Regions from separate parts of the Homo sapiens genome. Here regions 2, 3, 4, 5, 6 and 7 are each linked to region 1. Evidence: promoter capture Hi-C in human tissues and cell types (Jung and others, 2019). All regions are on one chromosome and are shown on one strand. The core of a region is centred on a gene start or on the middle of the fragment in contact, and the rest is flanking DNA. Distances in the headings are between cores, read along the strand shown. Region 1 holds the start of ETV1 (ETS variant transcription factor 1). Region 2 overlaps DGKB (diacylglycerol kinase beta). Region 3 overlaps DGKB (diacylglycerol kinase beta). Region 4 overlaps DGKB (diacylglycerol kinase beta). Region 5 overlaps DGKB (diacylglycerol kinase beta). Region 6 has its middle 140 kb from the start of ETV1. Region 7 has its middle 140 kb from the start of ETV1.

Evidence for each region. The method cuts DNA at HindIII sites, captures the fragments that hold promoters and counts their contacts. A contact is called where the count stands out against the background at its distance.
Region 2: a contact is called between a fragment that was not itself captured here and the fragment with the promoter of ETV1 in region 1, in 2 of the 25 tissues and cell types used here (hippocampus and mesenchymal stem cells).
Region 3: a contact is called between a fragment that was not itself captured here and the fragment with the promoter of ETV1 in region 1, in 3 of the 25 tissues and cell types used here (adrenal gland, dorsolateral prefrontal cortex and heart right ventricle).
Region 4: a fragment that was not itself captured here is called in contact with the fragment with the promoter of ETV1 in region 1 in 1 of the 25 tissues and cell types used here (dorsolateral prefrontal cortex).
Region 5: a contact is called between a fragment that was not itself captured here and the fragment with the promoter of ETV1 in region 1, in 1 of the 25 tissues and cell types used here (dorsolateral prefrontal cortex).
Region 6: a contact is called between a fragment that was not itself captured here and the fragment with the promoter of ETV1 in region 1, in 2 of the 25 tissues and cell types used here (heart left ventricle and mesenchymal stem cells).
Region 7: a fragment that was not itself captured here is called in contact with the fragment with the promoter of ETV1 in region 1 in 1 of the 25 tissues and cell types used here (IMR-90 fibroblasts).

The regions. Positions count from the first base shown.
Region 1 is chr7:13,987,707-13,991,828 of GRCh38, reverse strand. ETV1 (ETS variant transcription factor 1) reads left to right here and starts at 2,163. Exons shown (of 14, transcript NM_004956.5): 1 at 2,163-2,266; 2 at 2,365-2,561; 3 at 2,690-2,821; 4 at 3,656-3,743. The coding sequence starts at 2,777. RefSeq lists an enhancer at 142-643. The HindIII fragment of the contact is 5,948 bases long and covers 1-4,122 here.
Region 2 is chr7:14,236,415-14,240,536 of GRCh38, reverse strand. All of the region lies in intron 23 of DGKB (diacylglycerol kinase beta), which reads left to right. Among named protein-coding and RNA genes, the nearest start is that of ETV1, 250 kb to the right of the region's middle. The HindIII fragment of the contact is 3,921 bases long and covers 131-4,051 here.
Region 3 is chr7:14,207,119-14,211,240 of GRCh38, reverse strand. The region is part of intron 23 of DGKB (diacylglycerol kinase beta); the gene reads left to right. Among named protein-coding and RNA genes, the nearest start is that of ETV1, 220 kb to the right of the region's middle. The HindIII fragment of the contact is 5,240 bases long and covers 1-4,122 here.
Region 4 is chr7:14,190,355-14,194,476 of GRCh38, reverse strand. The region is part of intron 23 of DGKB (diacylglycerol kinase beta); the gene reads left to right. It also overlaps the pseudogene EEF1A1P26. Among named protein-coding and RNA genes, the nearest start is that of ETV1, 200 kb to the right of the region's middle. The HindIII fragment of the contact is 3,302 bases long and covers 39-3,340 here.
Region 5 is chr7:14,165,848-14,169,969 of GRCh38, reverse strand. All of the region lies in intron 25 of DGKB (diacylglycerol kinase beta), which reads left to right. Among named protein-coding and RNA genes, the nearest start is that of ETV1, 180 kb to the right of the region's middle. The HindIII fragment of the contact is 6,821 bases long and covers 1-4,122 here.
Region 6 is chr7:14,129,233-14,133,354 of GRCh38, reverse strand. No RefSeq gene overlaps it. Among named protein-coding and RNA genes, the nearest start is that of ETV1, 140 kb to the right of the region's middle. The HindIII fragment of the contact is 3,180 bases long and covers 453-3,632 here.
Region 7 is chr7:13,845,984-13,850,105 of GRCh38, reverse strand. No RefSeq gene overlaps it. Among named protein-coding and RNA genes, the nearest start is that of ETV1, 140 kb to the left of the region's middle. The HindIII fragment of the contact is 7,098 bases long and covers 1-4,122 here.

The DNA of each region.
Region 1 (4,122 bases), core at 914-3,413:
TTTCTTTCCTCTAGTGCAAAAGCTGTCTAAGCAGTGCACGCCGGAATTATCCCCACGTGAGCCTTCCTTTAATTTCGGTCTTAATTTTTTTCTCTCTTGTTATTACTCCCAGACCCCAACCTCTTTTTCCTCATCTAGTATCTGTTTCAGGGACAGGACAAAGAGGAGGCAGCGAGCTGAAAAAAGTTTTGTGGTTTGGGATACTTGGGCCTTTGTTGTGTCATTTCCTCTACCCCTCCACGCCCCCAACCACGTGACCAAGAAGGGCCGGAATTTTGTGAATGGAGACGAAAGGTGGCTGTTGGGGCGGGCGGGACTCCGCCCCCTTCCCTAAAGCGGCCAATCTCCTAGCGGAGCGCTGAGGGGTCAGCAATAAACAACAATGGGCTGGGGATTTACGGCTCGTTATTGGCTGCGGGAAGAACCTCGCCGGGACCTAACCCGAAGCTCCGCCCCCTCGCGGTTACCCTGGATACCCGTCAGGCTCGGGCTGCAGAGAAGGTCTTTGGAAACTGTTGCTCAGATTACAGGCGCTGGGTTATTCCAGGAGTGCAGGGTGGTGGAGGACCCTTGTTATTGACCCCCTGCTTGGTTGCACCCTCAGATAGTACCCATGAGCTTCACTGTTCAGCCTCGGGGCCCAGGCGCTTCCTGGAATCTCTCCTTGGCCGGGGTTAAAATGCAGTTCCCGCTCAAAATGCTTATAGGTGCGCGCGTTGTGAACTCCGATTTAGTAGTTTCCGGGAATGCGCGGGGTCTGTCTTTGCTGTCCATAGTTATTGGTTGTTTTCCCAGTAATAAGTGTTGATTGTTTGTTTGTTTGCTTCTTTTTTAAGTAGATCTTTCTCCTGCCCAGGTCCGGGGTTGAGTGCTGTGCGCTCTTACACTCCATTTTAATGTGTCTCCATAACGTTCTATTTAAGGAAGGAAACTTTCAAATAGAAATTGAGAACTGCAGCACGTTTCCTAACGGGCGGAACAGCTGCCGGAAACGTCTTTTGGTCACTAGTTCTGGTCACAAATGAATTTCAACAGCATTGAGTCCCTGGTCCTATCCCCGCGGCCTCCCGTCCGCTGTTGGACACTGGCTCCTTAAAGTGACGCTTTACTGTTCTGAGTCCCATAGGAGGATCAGGGCAAGTGGCTTCAGAGATGCAGCCCTCACTGCTTAACGTCCTAGTTATTGTCCTTGAAACCCGAGCCATCTCACCGCTCGCCCCCAACCCTGGGCTCTGGCTGTTTAAAAGCTGGAGAGGAAGTGAAAGCGTCAAGTACAGTAAGTGACACCCTCCGCCTCCGTGTATACATAACAAAAGCTCAGGAAACGTGCGGGTTCTAGGATATACGAGCAACCCCAAGCACTCCCTCCTCCTCCCCACAGCCACAGTGGACTGGAAGTACCTTTTCCCAGTGCACACGTAGGGACCATTTTGACTTATACTTTTTCACCTAGCTTGCTCTGTTGTCCTCCCATCACAACCTCTGCTAATCAGCAATTCTGCATCTCCTAGGTGCCTTCCTTATAGATTCTTTATGTTTCTGTCCCACGAACGATAGGATCTAATTTTAGTTGAGGATGACTGTTTAAAAAATGTTTCGATAAACCATAATGGTGATGGTGGGTTTTGAAAAACGGGAAAATAAATTGGGCCAAAAGCTGAGTGGGAATGAGGATAGAGAGCGAGGTGAGCTCCTAGTCAGGGCAAGAGTAGAGAGGTTGGAGATCCTGAGGGGAGGGCAGCTGAATAAGGCGGTACGGGCTTTGTGGATCGCGGCTCTAAGGGTATACCAGAACCGCACAACAGTACTTTAAGGAAACCAGCCCAATAGTGGACCTAACACCCCAATAATGGGAACTGGCGACTCGAAACACACGGTTTCAGTATCCCCAGGCGCCTTAACAATAAGCAGCGGGTTACAGAGGAAATCGAGTCTCTCCGTGGCGCTTCCAGGCTGAGGACCCAGCGCCTACCGGCCGAGCACCCCCTAGGGCAGAGGGGCGAGGGAGACCCGCGGGAAGGGGCAGCAAGCCGCCTGATTGACAGCCCGAAATCTGATCTTGTGAAAGAGACGCGGAGCCAATGGGAGGCAGCGATCCATCAGTTTGGATTGGAGGCCCCTGGAGGAGAAGTAGAGGAAAAACCACCGAATTGAGCTCTGTCAGAGGCGCTTTCGGCTTCCAAGGGGGAAGTGCTGGGCTATAATTAATGTTTTTATTAAATTTGGAGGGAAGTTTTTGCAGCCTTTCGCCTAGCGTGGCCTTCAGGTGGGTCTTTCCAACAACTTTTTATGTCTCTCCAGATAATTGCATGGTTGTGGGTCGCAAAAACTATCCTGATGAAAGAGGTGTCTCCGTCTCTTTAGTCCCGTTAGGTGCAAAGCAAGTCTCGTTGATCGCCATTGCTAGTTTTGCACACGTTTGCGAATCAGAGCTGCCCGGGGTACACCGACCGCGCAGGGAAACATCGAGAGTGTAAATAAATACATCGCCTCTTGTTCGGATTTTTGCTACTACCGAAAATATGTAAATTGTGAACTCTGTTGGCTCTCTTTGGATCCAGGTGAAGGAGGCGGTGTAGGGAGGGTTATTTTTGTGAATGGGACTGTCGGAGGGTAATTAGCTATGCAAATTCAAGAGCTTCATTCATGATTTTTTTTTAAGCCTAAAAGCCATCTTGTTCCCCTCTAGGTTGATAGAAGTCCAGATCCTGAGGAAATCTCCAGCTAAATGCTCAAAATATAAAATACTGAGCTGAGATTTGCGAAGAGCAGCAGCATGGATGGATTTTATGACCAGCAAGTGCCTTACATGGTCACCAATGTGAGTGATCAGTTTGAAAGTTGCTGTTTATAAACTTGACTCCGTCGGGGGTGGGGAGAGGGAGAAAATGAGAAGGGAGGGGGCACGGGGGTTGGGATTGCAGATACTTATCTGCTTTGTTGCCACTGTAGGGCGACTCTGCTTCTAGAAGCCCAGTCTTCAAAATGAGCTTACCTTTCAGTGATTTGGATAAGGCATAGTTTTGTTTTTAAGACCCCTTTTTCTGATTAAAGTGCCCAACATGAGTGGAAGAGGAGATGGAGGGCAGCAGCAGCTGCTGCACTCAAAGTTTTTGGCTGGGTTTGTCTGCCACATTGAAAAGAATGAAGTTGAGACAAATGCTGACACTTTTTGTTTATATGGGGTGTTTTTGTTTCTTTTTTTTTTCTCATTTTCTCTTTTTTTTTTTTTTCATTTCTCTACTCTTTTTGCTTTTTTTTTTTGTGGGGGTGGGGTGGGGAGGAGGGGCTGTCCAAGAGAGAATAAAACCCACTGTTTTAATCTAGCATTGAACCAGCCTAAAAACAACTTTAAGTGTAAATGCTTCAGGTTGTTTTGATGCTGAGATACCATGAATATATGATTGATAAATAGTAATGTGCTAAGATCGGCACTGGGAAGCAACTCTCCCTGCCTGCTTAACATAAGCTTTCACTGTCAAATAAGTGAGAAAATGAATATTAGAGTTGATACTATGGACTTCTATTTTTCTATTCAGAGAAGATCCATTAGACTTATGTATGCATGTCTGTGTGTGTGTGTGTGCGCGCGCGTGTGCGTGTGTGTGATCTGAGGTTTACATTCTTTTAAAGGATTTTATCTTTCCCTTTGTAGAGTCAGCGTGGGAGAAATTGTAACGAGAAACCAACAAATGTCAGGAAAAGAAAATTCATTAACAGAGATCTGGCTCATGATTCAGAAGGTGAGGTTTGATTTTGGGCTGAATCCCCATTTTTTTACCTACACTCTCCACCCTGCTAAAAGAAAAGGAGCACTTCAGTCTTATCTTAAAAATAATAAACTTTGAAATTACTGAATCTAACTAAGACTTTAACTTGGAACGATTTACATAATGCGGCAGTTTGCATGGGAGACTATTTTATGGTCCTATCACAAAGTAATGAAAGAAGGAAATAAAAACTTCTCAATGACAACCTTCTTTTAATCATTGTTTTGTGTTTAAATACCTTTGTCCATGGGGCATATAACTCACCCCATTCACTAAGATAACAATTTAAAAATATCCAATACAGTGGGACAAATTCAGCAGCTATGTACACTGCTTACTTTTTTCTTTCTCC
Region 2 (4,122 bases), core at 842-3,341, 250 kb before region 1:
ACAGGGACAGCTCTGATAATGATCTGGAAGTATGAACTAAGGTTTCTTAGGTGAGTCCAGGATGGCACAGGCCAAAATAAAATTATGTTGTTATTTATCACTTAATGATAGCTTTAGCACTCCAAAGATGATAACTTTAAAAATAATTATGCAATTATTGAAACATTGACACTTCTTGGTTGTTTTGGGTGCAAATCAAATGCTTTTTAAAATTCTATGACTTTTCACAAGTACTACATAATGATCGTACAAAATTTATTTTACATGGAACCTAGGCTTTGAGGGATTACTGGGTTGTTCTTTTACAACAGTGGGACGTAGAATGTAGAAATTATTTAACAGAGACATAAAAGTGAAATCTCTTTGGCAGAAAAGTTTTCTGCTTATTGGGCATATATATATTGGTAATATGTAATTGATAAGGGAAGATACAGAACATATATGTGCCTCTATGGTGTTATCTTCTCCACTTTGTCACATGTTTCTTTCCATTATTTTCTAAACAAAACGTATACGCAGTGGCTGGTAAGGTAGCAGGATCAAATTATTTTTAATTTTTTCTTCATGTCAAAAATAAGACCTAAAGTATATTCCTTTAAGGATTTATAAAGGTAATATGGTAAAATAGATACGTATTAGTCCCCTTTCCCAGCTAAACTTCAATCCCTTGATAATAGATAGATAGAGTCTTAATAAGTTTGGAGACACAATAATGATTTAAAATCACACATAAAACTATGCTAACATAATCTAAAATCCCCAAACCTTATTTTACCACTTAGGCTTGCAGGAAGTCTGGAGCAACTTTATATTGTGAGGATTCTCCTGACCCACACCAGGTATCAAGTTAGTGTAGATTCCAGGCTCAGAGATCCATTGATCTTTTGATCTTAGCATGTCATTTAACAAAGTTATTACTCTCTTTTTTCCTATCCTAAAATGAAGATGCTAATTATCTACCTAGAAAGATTAGAGGACATAATGAATGAGTAATCACACAATAAAATTATGAAGTGCTATACAAATGTAAGGAATTACTATGACTTCATTGCTTGAAACTTAGGTATTAAAATGTACAGTAAACAGAGAATTGCACAAGGCAGACTGCCATGTGAAGATCAAACAGTAGCGAGCTGTTTTGGAAACACTTTTTAAATTTCATTTTCTCAAATTTTCAAATTTATCATACCTATGAGCTTTAAACTTTGCTGAATACATTTTAACATTTAAAAAAACTTTTTGAAATCAGCAATAATGTTCTTAGAGCTGTAAAAACATGATGTTCCAACTGCACTTTTTTATAAGCTTTGTACCCTTTTCTTGGTTTTATTGCCAAAACAACCCATGGAAACAAAAGATGCAGAAAAGATATGAAAGGAAGTAACGACTGCTGAGCAGTTATCCTGTAGATGAATAATAGACAAGTAACATAAACAGATGCAAGCCTAACACGAATGCAAAATGAATGAGAGGAAACAAACAGCAAAAGCAGTTACAAAGTTAGGCAGTGGGAGTGGGCATTCATCTATCTCCCTTGGAAAATGCTCCATTGCTGACAAAACAAAGTCCTTCTTCACTGTAACATAATCATTGTTTTAGATGTTTCTATCCTTTTTTGACCTAGTAAAAACAACAAATAAAAAAATTATTTTTTAAAAATGTAAGACCCCATATAAAGCATGCTAACATCCTTAGTTTGTATTCATGATATTTCAATAAGCATCTAAAAATTAATTACTAGGTACTCATAGATATAATATGAAATTCCACCATTTGTAACCATTCAGCAATTCAACCACCCAGACATCCCACATAGAGAGGATTGCCTGTAACTACCCTGCCTAGATTCAACTTCACGTCCACCTCTCTTCTCTCTACAGAAGACAACAACTTTAACCCTCTGTCCTGTACCATTTTCAGAATGATTTGCTACGATCATTGCTGTTTTATTTTTATTAAATCAGAAAATGTACTCTAAGAAAAGTTATTCTTGTTAAGCCCAAAATGTAGCCTGGAAATTCCTGGAAACTAAGTAAAAAAATCAAAAGTATTAGTCTGTTTTTGCACGGCTATAAAGAACTACCCGAGACTGGATAATTTATAAAGAAAAGAAAGTTAATTAACTCACCATTCCACATGGCTGGGGAGGCCTCAGGAAACTTATAGTTAGGGCAGAAGAAGAAGCAAGGCACAGTCTTCACATGTCAGAGCAAGAAAGAGAGAGAATGAAGGGGGAAACTGCCAAGCACTATTAAACCGTCAGATCTTATGAAAACTCACTATCATGAGAAAGCATGGGGGAAATCCTCCCCGTGATCCAATCACCTTCCACCAGGTCCCTCCCTCAATACATGGGAATTACAATTCAACATGAAATTTGGGTGGGGACACAGAGCCAAACCATATCAAACAGTTTTCATTAATTCTTATTTCTGATAAAAGGGTTATGAGTTTCAGAGAAATTTTCCTTTCACCAACCCGAGAGATATTTGTCATATGGGTGTATATATAGGAAACACCAATCTAATAGACATATTCAAAATGTGTTAATACAAAAATAATATTGTGAAGTTTTAGTGACATATGTAGTAATATAAATGGCCTTTAATAATTATCACCTCTACTAGGGACAAGATTATTGATTACTTTTTGTGTTTACATTAATATTGAATGAATGAATGATTAACATTCCTTAAACACTGCAAAGATTATCAAGAAAAATAAAAAACAAACGTCTTGTTTTTTATGTTATCTTAAACAGGCAAATTAAAAAAGATGATCTATTTTTCGGTGCCAAGATAACAATGCATTTTAGCATCTTGTTGCATATCTTAGGTAATCATATTATTGATTCTACTACATAAACTATTTTGTTGCTCTCAGGCCTGTTTCTGATTCATATTCAAAATAAAAGCATGAATTATATATGAATGAAAATTCAAATGGCATTTTTAAAATTACCTTGAGTAACTGTAAAATATTATAATAAAATATATATTATCTATACTTACTCAAGACTGTGCTCTCACATTAATGCCTATTTGGTGGCCTAGGCAAGGACGTTAGTGGATTGAACACACTACATTAAAGAATAAATTCCTCATATATTAGCGCTTTCACAGCCTGTCTCTTGAAGGAATAAAGGACAATACACAAACCAGAAGGAAGTCAAAAGTAATAGAAGGAAGGAAAGAGGGAGAAAGGGAGGAATGGAGGAAGGGAAGAATGAAACATGAATACATTGAGCATACCATTTATAGCCCATGTTGCTTGTTTCAGTGGAGTCAATTTCACCTTCACATTTATACATAAATAATATATATGCATATAAATACTTACATTTGTGGGTGTATATATTTTAAACAAAGTAGTAGCATATCACAAATGATTCATGTAGAAATGTGCTAGGCAAGTGTAACGCTGGACTATGGAACTTTACCTGTGGTTTATAAAATGAACCTCATTTACAGGAAGAGCACAAATTTAAGCAATAACAGAAAGAAGTTTATCCACATTCCAAAATGATTGCTAGGGTTAATATGCCAGATTGATTTATTGATCCACTACCACATTGCCAAGAAATTAAGTGGAGGATAAACATCACATTACAACTTAGGAAAGGGAAAAAGAAAAGTCACCACGAGAAAAAAAAAAGTGCTTAATGTTAAATTCTGAAAATGTTTAGGGGTCTACACGACTGTTTTCACCACATATTTTTCTATTTATTTTCAATTCTTGTGAGATGTGTGCTGGTGTGAGAATTAAAATGGCTTTCATGTGTTAAGTTGTTGGTTTATAAGCTTTTTCACTATCACAGGAAAGAGAAAGTTGGAATTGAATTACTTGTTTCTAATATATAATTCATAGGGGGAAAAAATTTCACGACTTTGATTTTTAGAAAATTTTATGAACTTTTCTTTGTTTCCTTCAGCTGAGATTTCCCAGCAGTTCTAAAATTATTTCACGAAAATTACAGAACTATATTACATCGATCAGCTGTAAAAAATTTGATTCTCGTTGAACAGAAAAATTGTTCTTTTCTCAATGTATATGTTGTTTCAAGTTTTTTTTCTTCTTTAGTGTTATTATAATAACTTTATGTTCTAGAAGACAATATTGAAA
Region 3 (4,122 bases), core at 1,013-3,512, 220 kb before region 1:
TTCAAATACTGCAGGAATAGCTATTAGGATGATGAAGCCCTTTGATTTTAGCAGCGTGAAGATATGGGACCTATACAATTTATATGATACAGTCTCATGAAATGTTGAGGAAAGGAGCCAGATTTGAACAGTTTGAGAGGTGAGTAGGAGAACACAGTGAAGAAACCTATAAAGATGTTTGATTGTGAAAGAACACCTTCACCCTGGGGAAGGTGATAGCTGTAGGGGAACATAACATCTACAGAGGTTTTCTTTGAAGAGGATTGCAAGTGGATCAATATATTCAGATGGCAAGGATACAGTGGAGAGGGGGAGTGCATGCAAAAATCAGGGAAATGTGGGTGTATAAAGCAGGAAGAGATGGGTTTGCTTTATAAAGTCAAAGACAGAGGTGTCACACATCTATGGTAACAGGAAGCAGAGAGGAAAGGTAGGTGCTGGTTTATGTAGATTCTTAGATGGCAGACTGCTAAAGCAATCCCACTGATTTTCTCTGCATTAGGTGACACAGTCATCTCTTGAGGTGAGAAAGATTTGAAGACTTGAAGAGAGGGACATAATCTTTGTGTTGTTGGACATGTGAGATTTGATGTTGCGGAGACTAATGGACTGATGATCTCCACCATTCTCACCCGACCACATTGATTCATTCTGAAAATCAGGTGCATGTTGAGACTTTGGATTGAGCCAAGTCACATTAAAGCTCTGTTGTGATTCTGGCAACATATTAAAACCCTGTTATTTTCCTGGAAATGATATTTAGAAATAGGATTTTAAAATGAAAAGTTAAATGTCTGCAGATTGTGCACATGGATATGTAAGTAACTAAACTGAAAGGACAAAGCAGCCATCACACTGGAGTGCTATCTTCTAATTAGTCTTGAAGAGTTGGCTGGCTGCCTGTGGGCCTGAAATGAATTCCTGTTTGCCTTTGTATTGAGTTAAAGAGTCAGGCATTTGCCCCCAGTAACGGAGGCATTGCTGCTTCTTGCTTGGCCATTGCACCACCAGATGTATCATATAAATACTCTAATGGATAGTGGTGGACTAGGAACATAGGAGATAATCTGATGCAGGCAGATGCTAGCAGTCAAGATTACTCAAGCTGTATTGAAATTTCCTTTGCACCTGGCACTGGAGGTGTTAGCCATGCCAGTTCAATCCCCCCAACACAGATGTTCTTGTTGTACCACTTTGTATGTATAACATTTAGGTTTCTGTTCAGCTTTGCCACAGTACACATAAATACTGTAATCCAAAGACCACCCATTTATTAGTGCACCTGCATATTCAACCAGATTTCTTTCATTCTTTTCAATGAATGCTCAACATTAAAAAAAAAAAGACAGCCATAGGGTGAATAACCTTTTCAATTTGCCAGATAGCTTAACAAAATGATAATATAATGATAAAATAACAATACCAGAGCCCCCCCATGCAAATCCACTAAAACAGTGTTGCCAAAACATGAAAATAAAGTGAACTCTGTTTAATCAAAAGGATATTTTATTAACTTATGTCTGAAGTTTTTCTTTATTTCTTGTTAGGGAAGATAGACTATTTAAGTAGGTTATTTTTTCCAAAGATAAACGCTTCTTTTTTTCTTCAAATGGGAGATTGGTAAAGCTTACCTCTTAAGGGGCAGATTTTGCTGAATGTGAACCTCTGGAGCCCCCATTTTAAATTAATAGGAGTGGAGCTCTGTGCAGCTGAAGACTGCATATGACCTCCTGAATATAGGATAAAAAAACCTTTGGAAGGAGACAAGATCATTACTCCAGAGAATAGCCTTGTGTAGTTGCTGTCCTACTGAAGTGGAGAAAGGGCATCCAAATGTTTTGATCTTGTTTTTATAGTTGCAAGCAGTGTCTGTATCTTTCCAAATACCCAATCTTGTCGTATATATCTCTCTATGAAAAGGAATTTCAATGCTACTTAATTTTGGTTTAGGGGGAGATGGGACTGACTTTAATTATTCATTTGAAGCAAATAAATGTTTAAACATGAGATACAATTTAAAAATTGATGAATGGTGATGGTTTTTTAAATTTGGCGTTTTTTTTTTTTCTATCAGTAGTAATAGTTACTCAGGCTTATACTCATGTCCTCAATATATAAGGACTGCTTGTTTCCCACTCAGCATCTAGCTATAATTATATTCTGTTTGAGACATGTGCCCTACAGGAAAAAAGAGAAACGATGTATGCAAGTATGTCGATATTACTCCAGTAATTTAGTAAGTCATTGTATAGAATATATAGGCTACCAAGAAGCAAGCCAATTAAGAGATGGAGTGGAAAGAAGAGGAGAATCCAAAAGGAAGAAAGTAAAAAGGATAAATGAAAAAAAAAAAAACTAGCTATTTCCAGGAGGCTATGAATATTCTTTTGTTTATTTCTAACAACTCTTGGAGCACTCATATAGGACTGAAAAAACACTAGCTGTGTTTTCAGTGAATAAAGAATCAAGCTAGATACAGAGGCTACCTAGTACTTCTATATTTCAAAACCAAAGCGAGAAGGCTAGAATGCAGAAAAATGAAGAATGGAACCAATAAAGCCGGTTCCTTTAACTGTCGTAAAATTAATGCAACTATTCTCGTTTTGAATTATTTTACTCAATACAGAAATACTAGTATATGTGTACACACAAACATAAAGAAATATCAATGCATAACACAGAAGAAAGAGGGAAGAAGATGTATAAAGAGGGAGAAATTGAGGCTGTTTACAATCCCTTGCAACCCAGCAAAAGGGAGGGAAACTGTTTGAAGTAGAAGTTGAACCCCCATTAATCCTTCCTGCCTCCTACTTCAAACATGAAGATTAAGTAGAATATACTTCTTTATCCTAGACTGGTCTTTGTTTTCTTCAAGTTTTTAAGGCCTTCTAATACTGCACTTCCACCAGCAGTTTAAAAACCCGAATACTAGTCCCCACTATTCCTGTTCCATCCCTGAAATATTTTTTCAAGCTCAAGTAAATGTTTTATTTTAATTGTTAGCAGTACTAGCAACTATTAAAGGTCTGTCTTGGGCCAAGCATAGCACTAAATGTGTTGAATATACTCTCTCACTGGATATTTTGTTTTATTTTACTGGAGAGACAGGTGCTTATACAGATTAAATACTTTTTTCAAAGTCACACAATTAATAACTTAAGGAGCAACAATCTGGACCCAGAACTCATATAAAAGCTTGCATATTTAATCACTGTAAAACTTTACTGAGAATATCATAGAGTAGAGCTTTACAAACAAACTTCTATAGAAGTTCATCTACAAAGTTCTGTAGATGCTGGTTCAAGGTTCAAATGAGAAATTGTGCTGACAAGTCATATATAATTTTGGGGATTATTCATTTTACATTTTTTTAGTTCACTTTGAAGATAGAGTATTGGAATCCATTTCCTTCCCCTCTTTTGTTCCACATTTATATACTCATCCTCATGGTTTGTGTGCCCTGGTTCCCAAGTACAATAAAGGAGTAAAAAAAGGTTGCCACCTTAAGATGAAAAAACAGTTTTATTTTGACACATTTATCAGTCAGGATTTTTACTTGTAAACCACAGAATCCACTCTCATTTGTGGGAGGAGAAAAGGAACATGTTTACTGATATTAGTTACCCCCAAAATCTCTCCAAAGGACAGATAATTAGGCTTAAAAGCCATACAGCCAGGAACCACTCACCAAGTACATTGCCTGGCATTCCCACAGGTAACCTTAATGTCTCTGCTTCTGTGCATGAGTCCAACACCTCACCACAGAGAAGCTGGGCACAGGATGCTACCCCTAGGACTTCGGACTCCATGCCCTCAGAGAACAGAATGTCTCCATGCCATCCTGGCCAGAACTGTTTCTGCCTGTTATCTCCCTCTTCAAGCCACTGCATTCCAAACATCTCACACCAATGCACCCGACTGGCAAAGCTTAGGTCATATGTTGGCAGATTACACTTTGAAAGATCCCACACACGATGACTCACACTCTGATAGATTACAGTCTGAGGGATCAGGTGCTATCGGATCATATGTTGATGGATCACATACTGATGGATCACATGTTGACCTCAAAGGAGGCAGAGGGAGAGAGCTTCTGTAGCCCTCTAAAGGCAGGGTTCCTAT
Region 4 (4,122 bases), core at 440-2,939, 200 kb before region 1:
ATGAGTGAGATAATGTGGTATTTATCATTCTGTGTCTGGCTTATTTCGGTTAACACGGTGTCCTCCAGGTTCATCCATGTTGTCACAAATGACAGGATTTTATTCTTTTTATGGCTGAATAATATTCTACGGTGTATATTTGCCACATTTTTTATCCATTCATCCACTGTTGGACACTTAGGTCGATTCAATATATTAGCTATTATAAATAGTGCTACAGAAGTTGAGAGTACAGATATCTCTTTTGACGTGCTGATTCCATTTCCTTTGGCTATACATCCAGTAGTGGAATTGCTAGATCACATGTTAATTCTATTTTGACTATTTTTGGGGAACCTCCATACTGTTTTCCATAATGGTTGTACTAGTATATATTGCTACCAACAGCATATAAGTGTTCCCATTTCTCCACAACCTTACCAGCACTTGATTTCTTTTGTCTTTCTGATAACCACCAGTCTAATTGGAATGAAGTAACATCTCGTTGTGGTTTTCATTTACATTTCCTTTATGATTAGTGGTATTGAGCATTTTTTTCATATAACTAATGGCCATTTGTATGTCTTCTTTTGAGAATGTCTATTAAAGTCTTTTGCCCATTTTTAAAATGAGGTATTTGGGGGTTTTTTTCCCATTGAGTTGTTTGTGTTCCTTTATATATTCTATATATTAACTCCTTGTTAGAAGTATAGTCTACATATATTTTCTCCCATTTGCTAGGTTATCTCTTTACTCTGTGAATAGTTTCCTCTTCAAAAGCTTTTTAGTTCAATGAAACTCCATTTGTCTCTTTTTGCTTTCGTTGTCTGTGCTTTTGAGATCTTATTTAAAAAGTCCTTGCCCACCCTAACGTCATAAAGCATTTTCTCTGTGATTTCTTCTAGTTGTTTCATAGTTTCAAACTTTACATTTAAATCTTTAATTCATTTTGAGTTGATTTTTGTACATAACATGAGTCAGGGTCTAGTCTCATTCTTTTGCATGTGATTATTGAATTTTCCTAGCACCATTTATTGAAGAGACTACTTTTTCCCCAATGTGTGTTTTTGGCATCTTTGTCAAAAATCAGTTGGCTGTAGGTGTTGAATGTATTTCTGGTCTCTCCATTCTATTCTATTAGTCTATGTGTCTGTTTCTGTGCCAGCGCCATGTTGTTTTGGTTACTATATCTTTGTATAATAGTGTATTTTGAAGTCAGGTGGTGTGATCCCTTCCACTTTGTTCTTTTTGCTCAGTATGTCTTTGGCTATTTAGGGTATTTTGTAGTTCTACAGAATTTTATAGTTGTTTTTTTTTTTTTCTATTTCTCTGAAGCAGGGGTCCCTAACCCCCAGGCCACAAACAGGCGTATGGGTCTGTGGCCTATTAGGAACTGGGTCGCGTAGCAGGAGGTGAGCAGCAGGTGAGAGTGAAGCTTCATCTGTATTTTATAGCTGCTCCCCATCACTCGCATTACCGCCTGAGCTCAGACTCCTGTCAAATCAGCATCTGCATTAGATTCTCATAGGAGTGCAAACCCTATTGTGAACTGCGCATGCAAGGGACCTAGGTTGAGCACTCTGTATGTGAATCTAACACCTGATGATCTGTCAGTGTTTCCCATCACCCCTAGATGGTATCATCTAGTTGCAGGAAAACAAGCTTAGGGGTCCCACTGACTCAACATTATAGTGAGTTGTATTATTACATTGTAATACATAATGAAATAATATATAACTATATATTACAATGTAATAATATAAATAAAGTGCTAATAATATAAAGTGCACAATAAATGTAATGCACTTGGATCATCTCAAAACCACCTCCCAACCCTGTGGCTGGTCTGTGGAAAAACTGTCATCCATGAACCAGTCCCTGGTGCCAAAAACATTGAGGACCGCTGCTCTGAAGAATATTATAGTTATTTTGACAGGAATTGCATTAAATCTGCAGATCACTTTGGGTACTATGACCATTTAAAAAAAATTCTTCCAATTCATGAATATAATATGTCTTTCCATTTATTTGTGTCCTCTTCCATTTATTTTTCATCAAAGTTTTACAGTTTTATTGTAGAGATCTTTCACCTCCTTGGTTAAATATATTCCTAGGTATCTAGTTTTTTTGTAGCTATGGTAAAAGAAAGTTTTAAAAATTCTTTTTCAGCGAGTTCACTATTATCCTATGGACATGCTACTGATTTGTGTATGTTGATTTTGTATCCTGCAATTTTAGTGAATTTGTTTTTCAGTTTGACTAGTTTTTGGTGGAGTCTTTAGAGTTTTCTTTATGTAAAATATTATAACATCTACAAATAGGGACAATTTGACTACCTTCTTCCCAGTTTGGATGCCTTTTATTTCTTCCTCACCAACTCTGGTGACCTTTCCACCATCAGCAGCCTTCCTGTCCACTGCTTTGATGACACCCACAGCGACTATCTGTCTCATAGAACAAATAGCAAAATGACTCAGAGGATAGTCAGAAAAGCTCTCAACACAGGAGCTTGCCAGGAACCATATCGACAATGGTAGCATCACCAGACTTCAAGTATTTAGGGCCATCTTCCAGCTTTTTACCAGACTGGCAATCAATCTTTTCCTTCAGCTCAGCAAACTGGCAAGCAATGTGAACTGTGTGACAATCCAGTACAGGGACATAGCCGTCACTGATTTAGCCTGTTTGGTGCAGAATAGTCACCTGAGTAGGAAAGCCATTTGTTTCCATTGGTGGGTCATTTTTGCTGTCATCAGCAATGTTGGCACAGTGAACATCTTTGACGTGCACATCCTTGACATTGAAGCCCCCTTTGTCCCCCAGAAGAGTTTCGCTCAAAGCCTCATGGTGCATTTCAACAGACTTTTCTTCAGTTGTAACATTGACTGGAGCAAAGGTAACCCAGTCACCACTCAGAACACAGTAACAGTATCAAAATCACCAATTCTGTAGAAATCCTGGAGAGGCAGACCACAAATAAGGGCTTGTCAGTTGGATGAGTTGGTGATAGGATGCATTGCAGAGTTTCAAGCAACATAGTTCCACTGGCATTGCCATCTTTACAGGTGATTTTCCATCCCTTGAACCAATGCATGTTAGCACATGGCTCTAGCATATTGTCACAATTCCAACCAGAAATTGGCACAGATGTTACTGTGTTGGCATTGTAGCCAATTTTCTTAAGTTTCAGCTTTCTCAATGATTCTTTGTACCTTTTCTGGCTATAGAGTGGCTAAGTGGAATCCATTTTGTTAACAATAACTGTTTCACACCCAGTGTGTAAACCAGAAATGCATGCTCATACGTCTGTTCATTCCTGGAGACACCAGTTCAAATTCACCAGCACCAGCAGCAACAATCAGGACATCACAGTCAGCCTGAAATGTGGCTGTATTCACGTTTTTCGCAAAGCATCTGTGTCCCAGACTATCAATAATAATCAAGTAGTAACTGCTGGTCTCAAATTTCCACAGGGTATCAATGGTGATACCATGTTCAGGTTCGGCTTTCAGTTTATCTAAGACCCAGGCATACTTGAAGTAACTCTTTCTTATCTCAACAGCCTCTTCCTCAAAATTTTCGATGGTTCTTTGGTCAATCCCACCACATCTGTAGATCAAATGGCCAGTAGTGGTGGACTTGCCTGAATCAATGTGTCCAATTTTGACAATGTTGATGGGAGTCTTTTTCTTTTCTTTCCCATTTGACTTTAGGGATGGTTTTCATGACACTGGTGTTCTAGCTGCAAACGTATTGCAAAAAAAAGTTGGTATCAGCTTTAATATCTCCTACTTCATCCTTGATTTTATTTTTTTGAGTCTTCTTTCTTTTTTTTAGTTAGCCTAGCTTGTGGTTTATTGATTTTCCTTTATCATTTCAAAAAAACAAATTCTTCATTTTGTTGATCTTTTGAATTTTTGTTCTTAGCATCAATTTTGTTTATTTCTGCTCTGAGTTTTATTATTTCCTTCCTTCTGCTAATTTTGGCTTTAGTTTATTATTAAATTAATAACAAATCCTAGGCCTTTGAGATGCATTGTTGGATTGTTTCATAGAAATCTTCTTTTGTGATGTAGACAATTATTACTATAAATTTCCCTTTTAGTACTGGTTTTATTGTGTCCCATGGGTTTTGGTAAGATG
Region 5 (4,122 bases), core at 688-3,187, 180 kb before region 1:
AGAGATGGGGTTTCTCCATGTTGGTCAGGCTGGTCTTGAACTCCCAACCTCAGGTGATCCACCCACCTTGGCTGCCCAAAGTGCTGGGATTACAGGTGTGAGCCATGGCACCTGGCTGCCTTAATGTATTTCTAATACTAATAATTAATTACAACTCTATCATTTAAAACAGAAAATCCCTTTTCATCTTATTTATATTATTTATTTTTATGTAATACATATTTTGCTTCCCACTGCAGCCAAAGCTATCCATCATATTGTTGCCAGAATTACTACTGACCAACACAGCTATGATGATCTTACTCCCTTGATCTCAAAGTTCAATGCCTCCTCATTTTACACAGAAAAAAGTTCAGAATCTTTGTCATGACATTAAATTATTCTCCCAAGGCCGGGACCAGACTGCTATGCCTCATAGGAACCACTTCCCAGAGGATTACCATGCATAGTACTTCGTTTTTTGCCTCAAATCCTTACCCTCTATTTTGTGCTTTAGAAATAGATTCATTCTTCTGGTCTCCAGGCAGGCTACCTCCAAATCTGTGGCTTCTTCCAGTAGTTATCTAGGACTCATGGTTTGCATTTCTTTTTTTTTTTTTTTTTTTGAGACGGAGTCTCGCTCTGTTGCCCAGGCTGGAGTGCAATGGTGCCATCTCGGCTCACTGCAATCTCCACCTCCCGGGTTCACGCCATTCTCCTGCCTCAGCCTCCCGAGTAGCTGGGACTACAGGCGCCCGCCACCACACCTGGCTAATTTTTTTTTTTTTAATTTTTAGTAGAGACTGGGTTTCACCGTGTTAGCCAGGGTGGTCTTGATCTCCTGACCTTGTGATCCACAAGCCTCGGCCTCCCAAAGTGCTGGGATTACAGGCGTGAGCCACTGCACCCGGCCCATGGTTTGCATTTCTTTCATCTAGTCTTACCTATGGTTTATTAATTTCATACACATAATTTTCCCCTTTTAGTCAGATTGCCTGAATTAATTATTCTGTCCTATTGGGATATATGTATTTTTATAAGTTACTTCAAAATCTTTCTGGAAGGCAATGAGATATAAATACATACATACTAAAAATAAAATAAAATCTCTTCCTTCAATGCCAAGCTTAGAAGCAATTTCCTCATGAAGCCTTTTTAACTTCCCATCTGTCAGAAATATTTGCCTGATCCTTTGTACTCCTGTGACTCTGTTGATATCTTCTTAACAGCATTCCAATTCACAGACTTGTATTTCGGCTACGCATGCCTGCATCCAGCTCTTCTGACTTAATTGTAAGCATTTTTAAATTTCATCTTTAATTCCCCTTCATACTTTGCAAATGTCTTCTTACATAGTGCAATTTCTGATAAGAAATTCATAGTCGTTTGAATCATTGCTTTGCAATATGTAATACGTCATTTTTCTTAGGCTGCTTTCAAGATTTTTTTCTTTGTCTTTAGTTTTCAGCAGTTGGACTTTGATGAGTCTGGGCATGGGTTTCTTTGAGCCTATCTTGTTTTAGTTTCACTGAGCTTCACGAATCTGTAGCTGTATGTTTTGCCACATCGGCACATCTCCAGCTATTATTTCTTCAAATATTGACTTCTACGCCACACACTCTCTCCTCTCCTTCTAAAACTCTGATGACGTGTGTTAAGCACTTTATGTATTGTCTCATAGATCTTTGAGTCTGTTCACTTTTTATTTCCTTCTATATTTTCTATTGTTTACATTGGATATCTATTCACCTGTGTTTGAATTCACTGACATTTTTCTCTTTTATCTCCATTCTGTTGTTGAGTCCTTTCAGTTATTTTTTATGTTGTTCATTGTATTTTTCAGTTTTAAAATTTCCAGTGATTCATTTTTTAACTATCTTCTATTTCTCAGTTCAGGCTCTCTGTCTTTCATTTCATTTCAAGAGTATCTGCCATTACTTCTTAGAGCATGGTTATAATACCTCTTAAGTCTTTGTTAATTCCAACAATTGTATCATCTCAGGGTTTGCATCATTGGCTATATTTCCCCTTGTGTGTTTTTGAGATTTTTCTGTGATTCATATCTTGAGAAACTTTTTATTATATTCTGAACAGTTTTAATATTGTGTTATAAGACTCTAGGTATTTTCAATTCTCACAGGAAATGTTAATTTATTGTTGTTGCTGTTACTATTTTAGCAGGTAGTTGACTCTGTTAGGTTCAGGTTACAAAAGCTGCTCTATCTTCTGTGAGTTGTGGTTCCAGTATGTTTGTTTGGTTTTCAAAGTGTTTGCAATGTTATTCAGATGTATCTTACTTGTAAAAGATCCATATGCCTGTCTGAAAACTTGGTGATGATATACCCCCAAATGCAGCTCTCAAAGTCATCAGTATGTTTGTTAAGGTCAAATCTATGCATACACAGCTAAGGGATAAACTCAGGTGATCAAATGCAACTTCATAGGATAGCTTTCTCAAGCCACCTCCTCTCCATGATCTCTCTGATATTTTTTTTTTACTCCCAGGGCTCTCATATTGTTTCTCTGACCAATAATCCAAGGCTTTTGTTTCCTCACTTTGTCATATATTTCTCGAAGTAGCATCTGCCTCCAGGGTTCTGTGATAAAGGAATAGAGAGAGAAAAAAGGAGTAGGACTCCCCCCATGCTTTGGGAACATACTTTCTCTAGTCAGAGAAAAGATGTCTCCTCCATTGGAGTTTTAATTACCTTCCACTGCCATGGAATTGCCAGAGGACTGGGATGGAAATGATTAACAGAATTTTTTTTTTTTTTTTTTTTGAGATGGAGTCTCATTCTGTTACCCAGGCTGGAGTGCAGTGGCATGAAGTTGGCTCACTGCAACCTCCGCCTCCCGGGTTCAAGCAATTCTCATGCCTCAGCCTCCCTAGTAGCTGGGACTACAGGCACACACTACTACGCTCAGGTAATTTTTTGTATTTTTAGTACAGATGGGTTTTCACCCTATTAGCCAGGATGGTCTTAGACTTCTGAGCTCAGGCAATCCGCCTGCCTTGGCCTCCCAAAGTGGTAGGATTACCTGCATGAGCCACCCACTGTGTCTGGCCTGATTAACGAATATTTTTCCCATTCACTCTGATCTGTAGGGCCCTTCTTTCCTATTTTTGTACCAGTAGGACAGGGTTTTTCTTGGCACTTTCTATCTGTACCTGGTATACAATTCCAGTTTTTGTTCTGCTTTTAAGTCCAGGCCAGGAGGTGCAAGAGTAGAGAAAAAAACTAAAAACTAAAAACTCATCACTGGTTTGATGGCACTTCATGTTCTGGTCTTCTTCCCCAATTTGCCTTTTATTATTTTCTTTTCAGCAACTTCAGATATCTGCTTCATGTGTTCTGCCCAGGGTTTATAGTGCATTCAGTGGGAGAGATAGAGTGAAGAGTGCTTATTCCTTCTTAACTGAAATTGGAACCCACACCCCCACACCATTAGATTTTCTTGTTTATGACTATTTTGAGATCTGGCTAAATTCTCTCCATCAGATTGGCATATTATTAGCTAGAACTACCTGCGTGCTGACTTGGAGATTTCATAGATTATTCCCCATTTTCATATTCCTTCCAAAAATACTAAATAAGTCTAATAAATGCCCTAAACCTTGAATCTTAAAACATACCCAATTTGAGAAAACATCACTGATATTTTTTCTACTCTTGTGCCCCAGATTTAAGCAGTTTGAGACAGCATTTACCACATTGAGAGAAAATAATTGACCAAAAAAGTTTAGTTGTTTTTACCCACTTATAAGATTAAGGTTTTAGGTATTTCTATAGGCGAGTAATGATGTGGATGACCACATGAGATTTTCTTTTTTAAATTACATTGTAGGCGAACACATTTTAGGACTATTCCAAGTAAGTTATCTGTTAGTATAAGACACTTTTAGACTATACGGATGAGGTTAGGTGAATGTCCAAGGTCATGAAACAAAGAGTTATAGAACCGGGACTGTTCCTACCTTTTATTATTGCTGAAATTGTCAGCAGTTCGTTAAGCTTGTTTGCCTAAGGATAAAAGGTTCAGAAAGGAAGAAATACCATGCTTCTGAGGCTTTCTGAAATGTGCAGTGATGAATAAAGGAGCACAGGTGTAAAACAGACAGTAGTCCAATGAGACTCCTTTATA
Region 6 (4,122 bases), core at 793-3,292, 140 kb before region 1:
TGCTAGTTAACCATACTGATCACCGTGCAAATTTCCATTTCTCTTTTACTGATCAGCTCAATGATCATGCTGAAGCCCTTTCCCCATCTAGAATCTATTAATTTCACCATGTAAACTCTCTGCTTTATTGCAGTACTGCAATAATTTATGTAGCTATCTAATTCTTAAATAGATTTGAACTTTCTCAAGGGTAACAACAGATCCTTGTTCATCTTTACATTCCCAGCATTTAGAATATTAGGTACACACACAAGCACACCAGCCTTCTCCTCAAAAGAATCTCCCTTGTTTCCAATGTCAACTCCCTATTTATTCATCTCAGATACTAATATTCCAATATCTCCTTATTGTCCCCTAAATCTGAGGAGTCTTTAAGCAGCTGCAATTTCCCCCTTGTTTCTTCCTCTGAATTAAATGTGGATGGAAACTCACGTTGGTAAGTTAATAAGATAAAGGTCTGTACTTCCAGAGTTTGAAGCTATGATCACCAAAGTGTGATTTTAGATATGATTCAGGGCAAAATTATACCATGGGAAGCTAAAGATAGCATAGTAGAAATTAATATACTATTAACAATAAGTAGACCTCTCAGGCCACTGAAATAGCAGGAACTCTTCTGAAATAAAGGCGAAAACAGAAGAGATCTTGCAAGTGCAGTAGGGGCCAGGATCCAGTTTTACAGCCTCAACCACAGAGTGATTCTAGAACAGAGTACCAGCAGTTGTACTTAGAATGGACCTTCCCAAAGAAGGTGGGGAACACTCTAAATCAACCACAGCTGGCCTGTCTTCTAGTGGCCAAGGTAGTTAACATTAGGTCATATGTTTAAAAAAACAAATCTCAGTGGCAACACGAACAAAAAAGAAAAGTCTATTTCTCACTCACATTATAATTTCTCATGAATTGGATGATATGATGCTGTTAAATTAAGCATAAGGCCTCTGAGGTGACTACAGAAAAAAAGGAGAGTGGGGATAAACATAGAGATCCTTTACCAACAGGCATGTAAGTGGCTTGCATCGTATCTGCTCACATTCTATTAGCAGAACAAGTCACACCAGACCCCATCCACATGGCCCTAACCTAACTGCAAGGAAGTGAAAAAGCTAGATTTTCTGTGTGCCAAAATTAAGGAAATTAAAAGAGAATTTGGTTAGTATGGCATTGTAGCCATCACAGTAACCTTATGTGTATCATACTTTTAGTTGTGCAAAGACAATGCCCCCTCTTTTTTAATCCACTTATCCCACATTTAACCAGGTATACAGATGAAATTCAGGATTAAATATCTTGAAAACATTATATAACTGAGAGAGGAAAAAGAAAAATTTATTTTTAGTCAAAATATCAACGACGAGAAACATATTTGTTCCTCTTTTTTAAGAAGGTAGTTAGAAAGCAGAAAAGCACAAGGCTAAAATTATAGGGAATGGGACAGTATTATACCATATTAGCAATTTGACTTCTTGAGAGTTACTTGAAACACTAAAGTTCAGCTTCTTCATTTATAAAGTGAAAACAAATTAGACTTTTCCGCCAAGGTTAATTCTGTTAGAATTATCACGTGCATGTTAAATGCTTATAACAGTATCTGCTACAGAGAAAGTGCTCAAAAACAGGGGCTATTATGCACAGTATTATGACCATTGTTTCTGTTACTATCATGGTTATTATTACGTAGATCCACTGGACAAACAAAATCCTGTTATGTCCCAAAGAATGAGAACTCCATTTCAAGTAATCTGGAACAAAACTTCCCATATATTATGTGGCAATCTTTTAATGGCAAAGTTCAAAGTTAACATTTTGAAATGAAAAACGGAAAATATGTATGTATCAAATCCTTTTCTGGCTTCTCTGTGCTATCAGAAGGTACTTAGAATTCTCTGCATATTCATTCACCTACCTTCTTCTCCAGCCTTTTCTCTTACTACTCCTTCCCCTTGCTTTCTGGTCTTCAGCCATATAGATGTTCATTTAGTCCCTAAAATATACCTCCACAGAGGGCTTCTTTGCATAGCCTATCTGCTTTGATAACAAGGGAAGAAAACAGTGTCTTGCAGGCAGAGCAAGTAGCCTGTACTTTCTGATAGCTAAAACAGCCCTTTCTAATAAAAGCTTTCCCTGGGCTTGCTGTTGTTCAACTAACTGTGAGAGGTGCCACCAGTGCAACTGCAGCTGTGGGAATCACAATGTCACCAGTTAGCAGAAACTTAGGAGCCCAGATTTTCACTGGTGTTAAATCTCTCCTGATGCTGCTGGGACGAACCTGGAGTCTCATATAGTCACCATGTCTGCTGATATTACTACACCGGCAGCCACAAACTGGCAGCAGGAAAAACAAAGTCTTAATGCCTTCTTTTTTGCTTTGAGCCTCCTGAGAGTACCTCCTATTAGTAAAGAAGCCAAATGGCAAAGTTTTCTAAGAAATGTAGTTTGCAGGTTTCCAACCCTGGAGGTACAAAAGACAACATGTTTGGAGTTATAACCAACAGAAAACCTGCAAAAAATCCTACTATATATTCTCATAGTATTATATATCACAACTTCAAAAAATCCTGCTATATATTCTCATAGTATTGTATATCCCAACTTCATGGCATCTAGCACTTTTCCAACTCACTTATGTATTTTTTAAATTAATCTCTCTCTCAGAGAAAAGTAATCTTCATAAACATAGTGAAAACTGTCTTATATTTACATTTTATTTTACTCAATATGTTAGCATAAAACCTGGTTCACAGAGGGCATGCAACAAAATTAAGGAAATGAATAAATGATATGACAATTAATTTTAAGTTATCACAAATCATTTGATAAAAGAATTACTAATATTCTACCGAAATGTACTGAAGAATTACTATTTTTTATTCATTACTGAATAAAGTGAATTTTTTATTTTTCACATATTTGTGAATTAGCTTCAAAGTTCATATATGATAATGTGTCTTTAACCCTTTGTATTAGTATAATCTACTTTGAATGAGTTAGGAAAGGACAAGAGTATTAGAAACACATACCAGCAACATCTTATCAAAATCATAGTCCAGAGTTCAGTTAGGTGGGTGGTGGTGAAGAATGGACCACACATTGGTAGAAAACGTTGTTGGATAATAGCTGACCTAGAAGACCCTTCTAGCACAACTCAGAATTCTCCAAGGAATTCCAAGGCTTCTGCCCTCATATTTTCTTTACTACCCTCTTCTATCCTTACTATGTTAGAAAATGCATGTCTTTTAATGTGTACTTGTTCACTAGAGAACTTGTTAATGCATTCAAAGCTTGTTTCACTGTATCCAGCCATAAAACAAATTTGTGACTTATAATGGATTGGTGTAAGGAATAACAGATAAAATAGGAGTTTAAAGCACTTAGAATCTATAAAAAGCTGCAGATGGGCTAAATAATATTTTCAAAATGTTTATATATATTTGCAACTTTTTCTGTGCTCTCTAGAAACTACGTGCCATGAGCTCTATTTGCATATCCATGAAGAATTAGTTGGGTTTTGGCTTGTAATATTTTGGATCACCTTAACAGATGTAGTTCTAAATATCTGGGATTTCTTTTAACGTTGTTATATCATAGATATGGTTTTTTTCTCTTGTTCTCAATCTGTGGTGTCTACCTTTTAGAGGCTTTTTTAGAGCAAGACAAGTTTTGTCTAACACTCATTTCTTCACACACATACGCAGGCCACCACACACAATTTGGCAAAGTAAACTTAATTGAGAAATGGAAGAGATTGCAGTCAGGTGTAACATATTTTAATTATAAGGCATTAAAATTTATATTGATGAATGGAATTTAAAAGTATTATTGATAAATGTTCATTTGGTTGTTACTTTATATCTTTTGTCTTTTTATAGAATAAGAAAATACATTGGCCAAAAGAGATGTTCCCTTTTGTTCATGCAACTAAAAGATCAGTGGTGACCCTTTGATCAAGATGGTTTGTTGCTTAATAAAGGAATAAATGAAGCTTTCTAAATAATCCATTGATTTCAAATTACTTATTTTTGCTGCCACATACATACTATTAACATTTTAGAACAATAAAATGTATACATTTAAGAACAGTTATTTTTATCTTATCCTGAGTGTTAGTTATTCTCCTCATTT
Region 7 (4,122 bases), core at 925-3,424, 140 kb after region 1:
GAGAGTGTGTGAAATAACATACCGTGTTCTAATGGGCCCGGCAGAAGAACCCCACCATACGGATTTTATAATTATAGATTTATTTTTCTGCATCTCTGCTTATGTATCAGGATCTTTTTCCAGTCGAAATGCAAGAAAACTCCACAACCAAACAACAACCACCACCACAAGCACCACAAAAATACACCTCACATTGGCTTAAACAATACAGCTAATATTTCGTTAGTGGACTTTAGACAATATTTGAAGATCAGGCTTGTGCTCTGTATTCTCTAATTATCTCAGGCATTTTTCTCTTTCTTTCTTTTTTTCTTTCCTTCCTTCCTTCTTTCCTTTCTTTCCTTTTCCTTTTCCTTCCTTCCTTCCTTCCTTCCTTCCTTCCTTCCTTCCTTCCTTCCTTTCTTTCTTTCTCTTTTTCTTTTCTTTCACTGTTGCTGTTTGCTTGTTTTGTCATAGTAAGAAAATGGCCGCAGTGGTGTCAGGGTTCCTATCTCTAACCACAAGATCTGGAATAATAGAGCTTTTTATCTTTATTCAACTACTGAATAAAAGTATTAGGCTTTACTGATTAGACAAAATTAGGTCATTCACATCCCTGCCTCTGAACTAACTACTAATCACTGTGGACAATGTAGGGCTTAGGCCTGTACCCCTGACCATCCTGAACCTGTGAAAGCAAAGGCAGTTTACTGGATGAGGCCGCTTAGCCCTCTCCCATCACCCCCCAGAGATAAGAGAGGGCTTGTCCTGCCAAAGTCAGCTAAATCCAGGACACAACAGCATGGCAGTGACATGGTGATTCCAGGGAGGAAAGCCACAATGTCACTATACTGTGCAACCCAGTATTGGCCTAAATTGTGGAGCTTTATGTTGGTGACTCCAATGTTAGCAAAATTATCTTTGTGATTTTGCCAAATCTCCTAATCTGATTCCTCAGTTGTACGTCCATTTTCCTTTTACAGTGGATATTTCCTACAGAACTACTCCTGGGCTTTAGCTGTGTGTGTGTGTGTGTGTGTGTGTGTGTGTGTCTGTTTTAAATTTGAATCCAGTTTATGCAACCTCATTCCAACACCAAAAATAATTCAGTCACTTAAATGCCATATGGAATAAATAAATGTTTCAAAACAAATCAAACTTAATTCCCTGTAAAAATCCTCAGCATTGGTTACTCTGATTAAATATGTAAGGCCAGCAAAGGCCCAGGCTATTGGCAGGCTTATAAAGGAGAAATGAAAGGAATTAGAAAGCAAGAGACTAAAGTCACTTTATGAATTGATGAAGTGATGGCAGGAATGTTATTTTTATAATTTCTCAGAATAAAAAAAAAATACGGGTTTGCTGCCGAAAATTGGCTGGTGATCAGAGCCTGCCGAGTCACGCCAGGGCACATGCACTGTGTACGTGAGGGAGTAGATCATCCAGACTCTCATATTAGAAAATAACCAAAATTGGAGGGAAATCTTACCACTCAGTTCTATTCAATTCAAGAAACAAATATTGATTAAGCACTCTGGGAGAAGGGAGAGATTGAGTGTGTCATCAAGGAGCTTACTATATTTTAAAGGAATGATATAATTATCTAACAGTTAAAAAATTAAAAACACAAGTCACAAGTCTCATTTTAGAAGAAGGAGTTGATAGAGGTTGTCAGTAGTGATATCTACCCTGTATAAGGAAATTAATCAAATAAGATATCTGTGATTTTATGTTCTCAAAAGAAATAAAAGAGCAAGCTGTGAGTTAAACTTTATAATTTTAAGTTTACTGATAAAGTCAAAGAAGAAGAGAAAGAATTATTTATATTTCTCAAAATCTCTGTTCCTAAATGGCACAGCCAACATAAAAAATGGAGTTTTATATGAAACTAAAATATGTCACTTTTTCCCACACCATGTGGCTTCCTTAGGTGTCTTCTCTGGGTTAAGAGTTTGAACATCTTGGTCAAACATCAAAGTCAGATAGAAGTGAAGGAAAACTAAAGTCGTCGCCTCCAGGGAGATGTCATTGTGGAATGAATCTCTGGCCAGATTTTAATAACCTAAGAAAAGGAAATCTATGTTTGTAAATTGTATACATAAAATTTTGTTTTTCCTGTACCATCCTACAGGGAAAGAAATTAATCAATTTCTATGTCAAGATAAAAAGGGAGATCATTCAATATTTCTCCTGCAAACAGTTGTTAGCTTTGTGTTAGTCACCAGAGAAATGAAGTTCACTAAGACACAGTTGCTATCCTCAAGTATTTTATAATCAAATACTATAAACAAATTTATAACCAATTAAAATACAATGGGAAAAGTACTATAAAACAAATATTTATAATTCCTGTGAGAACAGAGATGAAATGGAAGAGAGGGACATTGTAGGATCAGGGAGATACACAGATGGTTATATTGAGGATTGAAGAAAGTACTCAGCTGAAAAGAGAAGGTAGAAGAGAATTCAGGCTGGAGACACTCCACAAAGATATAGAAAGAGCATTTCACCTTGGCTAAATTTAAGCACCCAGTAGGTTGAGATATGATTTAATTTGGCTATTTTTTTCTGCATGTCAATTATGAAACGCATCTAAACATTTTTGAATATGCATACCCAAGATAAGTGTATTTCTGTAGTTATCACTGCTGTTACTGTTGTAAATATAGGCAAAACTCAACCTGTGTCTAATTAAAAAATGAACAACAGCAATAATAATAGTAATAACAATAATTGCTACCATGTATTGATCAAGGAACTTTCTTCCAAACTATTTTAAATGCTTTTTGTGAATTAACTCATATACCCTTTGAAACAACCATATGGAATAGATACTACTATTAATCCTTTTTTTATTAATGAGAAAAATGCAGGTGTAAACACACATATTAAATTTTTCTACCCACACTCCATAGATCATCTTGCACACAAGAACTCTCTGCAGTAGATGTTATAGAGACCAGGTGCAATTATTATAGAGACAAGGTGTGGTAGTGACACGCAGGGCCCTGGTTGAGTATCTTGATGAATATTAGAGGTGCTTGAAAGTGCATGTGTTTGTGTGTGTATATGTGTGTGTTTAAGCATGGCAAGAGTCGGTATTAAATGTCAATGAACATTCTTTCCTGCCTTTGGTTTTTCATAAAGTGGTTTTTATTTTCAGTCCTATAATTAAACAGGTAACCTCTCTGGATCTTTATTATCTCTTTACTAACCTTGACCTTTATCTATTGCAGAATAAGGATGGTATTAGGGAGAAGAGATTTATTGGGTGCCAGAAACTGCAAGGGATAAAAAAGTAATTTCTTTTTCACCCATTGCTAGGTTCATGTGAAAAAAGCATGTGAATTTATTTAATGTAAGTTTTACATGACATGGGAGCCTTTGTAAATGAAGACCCAAGGAAACAGGAAAACCTATATATTTTTATGCTAGGTTTGATGAAGCGTGAATAGTTGCTTAGAAGTATAAATGAACAAAGTATGATCTAATGGTAATAAAGTAGGGGAATTTCGCAAGATCTTCTGCTTCAGATTCTTCTTCATGTCCCTGTGTCCTCAGAGGTAAAGACATTACTTTCCTCTGGGAATAAGGAGGGCATCTCTGGAATGAGGATCTTATGATTCACTCAGAGGAAGTTTAGATAATAATAATTATTATTTTTTTGAGACGGAGTTCCACTCTTTTTGCCCAGGCTGGAGTGCAATGGCGTGATCTTGGCTCACTCCAACCTCCACCTCCCGGGTTCAAATGATTCTCCTGCCTCAGCCTCCCGAGTGGCTGGGATTACAGGTGTGCACCACCACACCAGACTAATTTTGTATTTTTAGTAGAGATGGTTTTTCACCATGTTGGCCAGGCTGGTCTTGAATCCTGACCTCAGGTGATCAGCCCACCTCGGCCTCCCAGAGTGCTGGGATTACAGGCCACCATGCTCGGCCAGATAATACTTTTATGGCTTCCATCAGGGGACAAGTGTGGGAGAATGTGAGAGTGGCCTTTCTGCTTCTGCTGTTTTCTCAGATGCTGAGGTATCGTGTTTGGGGTATCATGTCGGGAACCCTATCAATAATAAGAGTTTCCTCATTATCTAAAATCAATGTTCTGTTCTGGTGCTTAAGATCATTTATATGGTATTTCTTA